2 separate regions of the Homo sapiens genome follow, and region 2 is linked to region 1. Evidence: promoter capture Hi-C in 16 types of primary human blood cells and fetal thymus (Javierre and others, 2016). All regions are on one chromosome and are shown on one strand. The core of a region is centred on a gene start or on the middle of the fragment in contact, and the rest is flanking DNA. Distances in the headings are between cores, read along the strand shown.

Region 1 (3,952 bases), core at 1,115-3,614:
GAATGATCTGTCCCTGACTCACTCAGAACAGCACAGGGGTTATTAGTATTGGCTATAGGATACTGGGTTTGAGGAAGGAAAAAAACGGGGATACTGGGTTTGAGCAAGTTACTGTTCCTACGCCTGCTTTCTCATCTGTATAATGGAGATAATAACAGAACCCACTTCACAGCGTTATTAAGAAGACTGAATGAGGCCGGGCGCGGTGGATCACGCCTGTAATCCAAGAACTTTGGGAGGCCGAGACGGGCGGATCACGAGGTCAGGAGATCGAGACCATCCTGGCTAACACGGTGAAACCCCGTCTCTACTAAAAATACAAAAAATTAGCCAGGCCTGGTGGCTGAGGCAGGAGAATGGCATGAACCCGGGAGGTGGAGCTTGCAGTGAGCCGAGATCGCACCACGGCACTCCAGCCTGAGTGACAGAGCGAGACTCCGTCTCAAAAAAAAGAAGACTGAATGAGTTAATTCATGGAATGCATTAATACAGTGCCAAACTCGTATTTAGTACTCAAAATAAATATTAACTATTGTATAATTATTACAGGAAGGAAAAATTACATATGTGTTAACCATACATATCACGTCCAATTAAGAATAGCACAGGAGAATATTTATGGACATGGAAAGTTGTTGACCACATTCTATTAAGCAAAAAAAAAAAAAAAAAAAAAAGTTACAAAACAGTAAAAATATCATTTTATGTGAAAAAAATCTACGTATAGTCACCATTTATCATCTAGAATTAAATTTACATAGTTAGAATGTGCCCGTATGCAGTTTCTCCATTCAATCTCGAGTGGACAATCAAGAAAAAAATTTGGCTTTTAAGTGAACTGTCCTGTCACAGACTTGGGATAGAGGATCCCTTAGCTGAAGACGTCACCACTTCTCACTTGGACTATTACAACAGCCTTCTGCATGTGGCCTAACCTTCTATCCCAATGCCAGCGTGACTTTTACAAATACAATCTTCCTGCTTAAGATCCTTCATGTATAGAATACAAGTTTCAAACATCCTTGTTGCCTAAGATCCTTCTGATTACTGTTCCTTTAACCCTTCTGGCATATCTCTTGCAAACAACCCGAAAGACAATTCACCTGCGTGCCCCTTTTCACTGCCTTCCCTACCTTTACGTGGGAAGCCCCGTCCTGCCTGTTTACCTGGTGAAATCATTCTTCCAAACTAAATTCTAAAGTGCCTTCCTAAACTTCCTCTTCTGTAATACCACAAGGTTGATCACAAAGCACTAGGGCTGTTTTCCTGTCTCTTACACATCAGCCTGTGAGGCCCTCAAAGTCGGGGAACTGGGCCCTATTCATCTTCCCACATGCACCGCCCAGATCAGTGCCGGGCAAAATGTATACTTAACCACCCAAACTTGGACAAGCTGGGTCAGATCTCGGGCACTCGGTTTTCCTTTCCTTAAAATGGAGCTCTTTACCCCCGCAGGATCTTAGGAGATTGATTAAATAAGGCTCTGCAATGTGTTTCCCGCTTACAGTAAGCCATAAACGCAAGTTTGGAAGCCTCAAGCCTAAGATTCTGATTCTGTCTCCGCGTCTAACTACTGTAGATGTGAGGCTCTGAACAAGTCGCTCACTCAAGGTCTGTTTCCTCATCTGTAAAGAGAATGGACCCACAGATGAACTGCAAGGCCCCACCCTAATTTATGAATGGATGGTTCCCAAAGGGGGTTCCGACTTTCCAGGAGTCCCACCATCCCCCACTTCTCCGACCCACGCGGTCCCGGCCGCTTCCTGCTTCCTGCCCCCCGCTCCCGCCGCGAGCGTAGCGTCTGCACCCACTAGAGTCCCAGGCTGGTCTCTGGGTCCCACCAAGTTTGCTCACCGGCTTCTCCTCGCCTCCCATCTTCCCTGAAGGACTGCTGGCCTTCTCCTCAAACATTGGCGAACGACGAAGCGATGAGAGAACCCGAAAGCGACGGCCTAGAGGAGAGGAGCCAAGAGGCGGGTGGGAGGTGGGCTAGCGCCCGGGACTTGGCCTCGGCTGGACCAGCTGATGCAATCGAAAGGCGCCCTAACCCCGCCCCCAACTTGCGGCGGAACGAGCAGCCAATGGATAACGGGGGAAGGCGGGCCCTCCCTCCTCTAAGCCAGTGGAAAATCTTTTCGGGTGACAGAGCCCTTCTAGGAAATCAGGTCGCGGAGGGTGAGGAGGAGCAACTGCAGAAGCTACATGCCTACTCTCCGCTGACCTTGGTCTGGACGCTTTCCAGAGTCAAGTCCCCAATGCGCGTGCGCCTTTCCTCCCTTCTGACTTTATGTGGAACAATCATGGACCTTCCCGGACACCGTAGATAATAAGTAGGTCTTGGTCTAAACTTCCGGGAAGTTTTCGGCGACCTGGATACCATCTTCGACACGGGGACAAATCCCGGGATGGAGTCCAGGGTTTCCCGCGGCTTCGGCGCTTCCTGACCTGGCGTGACTGCCGACTTGTCGGCACCACCCAGGCCTCAGGCTCCCTGTCTGTAGTGGTGAATCGACCTTCCTCATGGCAGTCCAGGCTTCCCAAGCCCCATGTCCTGTTGATCCGGGACAAACTCTTCCTTGAACGTTCTTCACTACGAGCCGCTGCTGATCTGTACTGCCTGGAGGAGCATTTCCATAGCGCCCGCAAAAATACAATAAAGCTCACCCAAGGAAATAACCATGGATTCTCACGCCTGGGTGCCAGTGTTTGGAATCGACTGGGCTTTTTTATGTTAGTAGGCAATTTAAAACAATTACTTATTTGAAATCAGAAGCGCAATAGGCATAACTTCAGGTACGTGCTCCACCACCACGTTTTGTGGATTTTTCTTTTTAAACATCAGTTCTGTTCTCTACAACTCTCCGCCTTCAGGGTTATACTTTCCAGGAACAATAGCTTCCCAATTCGGCTTTGTGCATCCATTTTTCATACAGCATCGTTGTAGTCTTCAAATACAAATATGATCACGGCAATCTGCTGAAAAATCTTTGGTGGCTTTCCCTTGCTCTTGGACAATCCCTGATTGTCCAAGTTTTCGGCTTCATCTCGTTCGCCCACCATACACTGAACTATAAACTGTAGTGGCTTTTTTTCCTCAGGTCTTCCCACAGACTAAGTACCAAGATTTTTCCACCCTACCCTCATCCGTGCTCATTCCGACACACTTTTTGCCTGTTTGACACCTCATTTATTGTCAGATTTCAAGAATCGTTTTCTTCGGGGAACCATTTCTTGACTCCCTTACTGGATGAAACAAGCCTCCCTGTTAAACAGTGTTGGAGGCGCAGAAACATACCCCCAAATAATGGCGTTTTGACATCTGAACTGAAGAAGCCTCAAGGTCCCACTCCCCTAAATCCCCACGCCATCTCTGCCAAAGCAAAGGATAAAGTTTAGACACATCACAAGGAACATAATTGTTTTTGTTGCCTCCCTGTAAGACCAAGAATGTAGTAATCACACCTGAGCAGACCCTTTCACAAGATGTTGTACAAATTAATGTGTTCCTGATACATTCATTCTCCTTTGTAATCCCTCAACAGAATTCCTCTTCTCCCTATCATAACCTGTGTCGCTGGGATTGTATCCACAAGCTTCTGAAGCCCTCTGAGGGGTGGGTAATCACGCTGTGATTCTTCCTGTGTATACACGTTAAGTAAATTTGTATGTTTTTTCTATTAATGTTCCTCATGTTAGTGATTTTCAGCCAAACCTCAGAGGGCCAAGGAGAAAGGTCCCCTTGGCGCTTACAATAGTGTCTGCTGGTAGTTTCATGTGGTTCTTGGTAGAACTTACCGGTTCAACTTGTTCTTTCACTATGTGTGTATTTAGAGCTAAGCAAGTTTACTATATATGTGTATATATATATATATATACACACACACACACATATACACATACGTATATGTATATACATATATTATATATATATATATGCACAGTAATGGTTCTG
Region 2 (4,108 bases), core at 1,396-3,895, 1.9 Mb after region 1:
GCCCAGCTTGTAAATAAAGCTTTATTGGAACACAGCTACTGTCATTTGTTTACACAGTGCTTGTGATTGCTTTCACACTACAAAGGCAAAGATTAATAGTTGCAACAGAGACCATATAGCCAGCAAACCTAAAATATTTGCTAATCTGGCTCTTTAAGAAAGTTGTCAACACTTGTTCTAAATAAAATGAAAAAGACAAAAAGACAAACAAAAAACCCCCAAACCCATGAGTTTAGCAAAGTCTATTTCCTATAATTGCTTATTATCTACTGCAAATTGTACTTCAAACACAAAAGACCATAAATAAAATCACATATTACCCAAAGAGTGTTTCCTTATCAAACACGGTGTCTGCTGGCATATTCACAGGAATAAGGAGGTCTGGATGTGAGTCGAAATGTAAAAAACTTACATTACTGGCAGGAAGATGCTTTGAGCCTATGGCCCGGTATATAAAGGGTAGAACCTGTAAAAGACACAGGCACACAATAAGAATTAACACTGAAACCATGAGCACACACTCAACTGCAGACTGAAAAACAATGCTAAATAATGCACATAATTGAAAGCATACTATGTTGCTGTAAAGTGGAAAAACATAAAATTTGTTTACTGTAGATGGTGCAGATGATAATCTCAAGCATTACTTTGTCCTCAGAACTTCCAACCTGCATCTCCAGCGGCCTTCCTGCTGCCCCCTTGAACTCAACAGGTCATGTGGGGAAACAGACCAGGACTGGGGCTCAGGAACAAACTACCGCTTAATGCCTGTTCTAACATTAACTAGGTGTTCAAGGTACCCTAGGTCTCAAAGTATTCTTTTTTTTCCTTTAAAAAGGGATAGGGGCTTGTCAGTTGCCCAGCCTGGAAAGCAGTGGTGTGATCATGGCTCACTGCAGCCTTGGACTCCTGGGTTCACACGATCCTCCCACCTCAGTCTCCTGAGTAGCTGGGATTACAGGCACGCACCACTACGCCCAGCTAATTTTTTCACTTCTATTTTTGTAGAGATGGGATTTCGCTCTGCTGTCCAGGCTGGTTAGGGTCTTTTTGGTACACTTAGAATGGTGGGGTTGGGCTAGGTGGTCTATAAAGGCCATTTCTCCTCTTACATCTTCTCTAATTCTAGGTTTAATACCTAATTTGAAAGCACCGTCTAACCTAGGCTTTCTCATTCTCTCAAGGTCATAGACACTATATCCAGGTCCTGAGAAACCTATCTTCCTCTCCTATTAGCTGTCACCAACAGTAAATCCCTCTTCTTTTTTAACGTCCAGAGAACTGCCTCCCATCCCAAGCCTACTGATGCTACTTTAAAACATATTTATTAGATCCATGGGCCTCCTTTGTTGACTTGGAAAAGTCTAGATTAAGACACCAATTTGGCTACTGTAAATCAGCACGGCCATAAACATGGAAACCCCTTTTAGTGTTTATCTATGCAGGGCACCGTGTTAAATTTTTTTTTTTTTTTACGCAATATGGGCCGTGCGCAGTAGCTCACGCCTGCAATCCCAGCACTTTGGGAGGCCGGCGGGGGCCGATCACGTGAGGTCAGACTTTCAGACCATCCTGGCTAACGTGGCGAAGCCCCGTCTCTACTAAAAATACAAAAATTAGCTGGGTACGGTGATGCGTGCCTGTGATCCCAGCTACTCAGGAGGCTGAGACAGAAGAATCGCTCGAACCCAGGAGGCGGAGGTTGCAGTGAGCCGAGATCGCGCCACTGCACTCCAGTCTGGGTAACAGAGAGAGACTCCGTCTCAAAAAAGAAAAAAAAAAGATTTTTAAACACAGTATGCACACAATAATACTCCTAAGAGCCCTGTGAGTCCTACGATTACTGTCCCCATTTCAGATCAGAGCCCACGTTCCAAGCATAAAGCCTCCCATCTAAACAGCAGGGCTGTGGTGGCGATTCCAGGAGATACTTGGAAGCCAGAGTTAACTGCAGGTTAAGAACACAGGGCTCTGCAGCCAGACTGTCCGGTTTCGAATCCCGATGCCACCTTTTGTTTGGTTCTGGGATTTGGGGGCAAACCGAGGTAAATAAGTTGCCCCGACTCGTAGGAAGCGCCCATAAATGTCAGTTCTCATTCTTCCTAGTTAGCTGTTTTGGGGTCCTCTCCACAGCAACGGAATAGGGCAGTTTAACTCTGGTTAACTCTCTGGCCTCCGATGCTAAGGTTGCGCCCTCTGCTTGGCCCTCTGAGCGTCAGGGCTTCCGCTGATTCTGCCCCAGAGCCCTGTTGCCGTCCGCTCACCTCCTGATGATCCTCCACCACCCACACTGGGAGCTTGGGGTAACGCCGGAGACCAGCGCGCCCTCCCGCGGAGTCACTCATGTTTTTGCGCCCGTCAGTTTTGCAGTAAAGCGGTGGCAGCTGGAGAAGACCCGGGAAAGCCGGCGCCTCATCCCGGCCAGCTCTCTCCGGGCGGAAGCGCTCCCTCACCCGGTTGCGTTTTCGGATTGGAGGACGTAGGGGGAGGGGGCGCGGGCTCCAAAGGGTCTTTTGCTGACGATTGGTCTAGACGTCCATCGCTTTCGTTGACGCGCCAATCACCGCGCACAAGGCCCTGCGGTGGGCTGAAGAGTTTTCCCTCCCTTGGCCCAGCTTTCTCAGGTTTGCTTTTTAATTCCCTCGGTTTCCTGTTCCGGAGGCGCGGGCGGTGCCACTGTCTTGGTACCTGCGGTAGTAGCCTGGCTTTGCTCTGACGGCGATCTCGCGGCCCGAGAGCCTTTTATAGGTAAAAGGGGTACCTTGCAAGTGTTAGAAGAGAGTTTCCGAGTGTCAGGATTTAAACGGGGCTGGAGTCTCCGGGGCTGGGGTGAAAAGCGTCCGGGAATTGGGGTCGGGCAGCCCCACTTCAGATCTGCAGCTAAGGGCAAAAGAGCGACGCTAGGCCTGGATCCCGCAAATAAGTGGAAGTGAAAAAGGAGACCTTTCATTCATTTGTGGAGCACACACTATGGTCCAGGCCTGGGGCCGCCCGGCTCTCGGAGGGGAGTGAGATCCTGAGCTCAGCGCCTGCCTCGTGGGGCGTACCGTCTGGCGGGAGATGCAAACAGTAAATGTGCAGTTATGGATCAGGATGAAGGTGACTGCCCTGCAGATCCACCTGGGGAAAGAGGGAGTTCTCAATAAAAATGTAGTCACACTTTAAAATTCTTTTTACATGCACTGACGTTCTGGCCGTGTTAACTATTCAAGACAGCTCCTTCAGTGTCTCTGTTTCCAAACCGCAACCGAGAAGAGACAGACGGAGAAAAGAGAGTTACTTTTCCAGGTGCAGTGAATTCCTTGACTTTTGAATTAAAGTCTGCATCCACAACACAGCCGGACTATGCCTTCAATAGGTCAATTTCATGATTAGTATTTTTAGATTTTCTAACTACTGAAACATCCATGAGGATCTGGCAGTGAATGTTCAGCTCTTGTTACACACTGTACAAGAGTGTTCGTGACCCTGACTTTTGCCCACCTCTAGGTGCGGCACACACCTTTGTGTTCCCCTAAGCCCTGCACATACCTCTTTTTTGTGTGTTTATTGCATTATTTTGTATTTTTAAAACACTTACTTGTACGTGGGTTCTGAGTTCCTTGAATCCTACAGGCTGTGTGTCTTATTATCTCTGAGTCTACAGGGCCTGGGACAGTGCTTCCCATTTATGGGCTCATTAAATATTGCATGACTCAGTGAAAAGGCCTGCTTTCTGTTGCGGAGGTACATGGAAGGGAAATGTACAGTAGCAACATGGAAACATACTATTGGTGAGAGAGTAAACATTTATTGACCACCTACTGTGTGTAGGTTGCTTTTCCCGGGGATGTGAAGGATACAGAAATGACTGTGAATCAACCCATATCATCAAGGAGCTGATAATCTAGTGGAAGAGTTAGACGTGTGCATACTTCACTATGATATGAGGCAGTCTCTGGTAAGTGCTGTAAAAGGATTAAGTATAGACTAAGTCTAGAGGGAATGGGATTACCTAAGGGAATCAGGAAGGGCTTCATAGAGGAGGTGGCATTTAAGATTGATAGATGGATAGAAAATCACTGGGCAGATTCATACGTTGGGAGATTTTTTTTTTTTTTTTTTTTTG

The links. The method cuts DNA at HindIII sites, captures the fragments that hold promoters and counts their contacts. A CHiCAGO score of 5 or more calls a contact.
Region 2: a contact is called between the fragment with the promoter of DROSHA here and the fragment with the promoter of TARS1-DT in region 1, in 2 of 17 cell types (naive CD8 T cells and total B cells). The highest score is 5.9, in naive CD8 T cells.

The regions. Positions count from the first base shown.
Region 1 is chr5:33,439,046-33,442,997 of GRCh38, reverse strand. TARS1-DT (TARS1 divergent transcript) reads left to right here and starts at 2,364. Exons shown (of 3, transcript XR_001742630.2): 1 at 2,364-2,793. It overlaps TARS1 (threonyl-tRNA synthetase 1), which reads right to left and starts at 2,033. Exons shown (of 19, transcript NM_152295.5): 1 at 1,855-2,033. The coding sequence starts at 1,911. RefSeq lists enhancers at 925-1,511, 1,526-1,585, 1,846-2,035, 2,136-2,445, 2,100-2,687. The HindIII fragment of the contact is 5,282 bases long and covers 1-3,595 here.
Region 2 is chr5:31,530,630-31,534,737 of GRCh38, reverse strand. It overlaps DROSHA (drosha ribonuclease III), which reads left to right and starts at 2,645. Exons shown (of 36, transcript NM_001382508.1): 1 at 2,645-2,748; 2 at 3,213-3,288; 3 at 3,814-3,940. It overlaps C5orf22 (chromosome 5 open reading frame 22), which reads right to left and starts at 2,437. Exons shown (of 9, transcript NM_018356.3): 1 at 2,265-2,437; 2 at 321-466. The coding sequence starts at 2,345. RefSeq lists enhancers at 2,216-2,265, 2,316-2,365, 2,396-2,565. The HindIII fragment of the contact is 13,099 bases long and covers 22-4,108 here.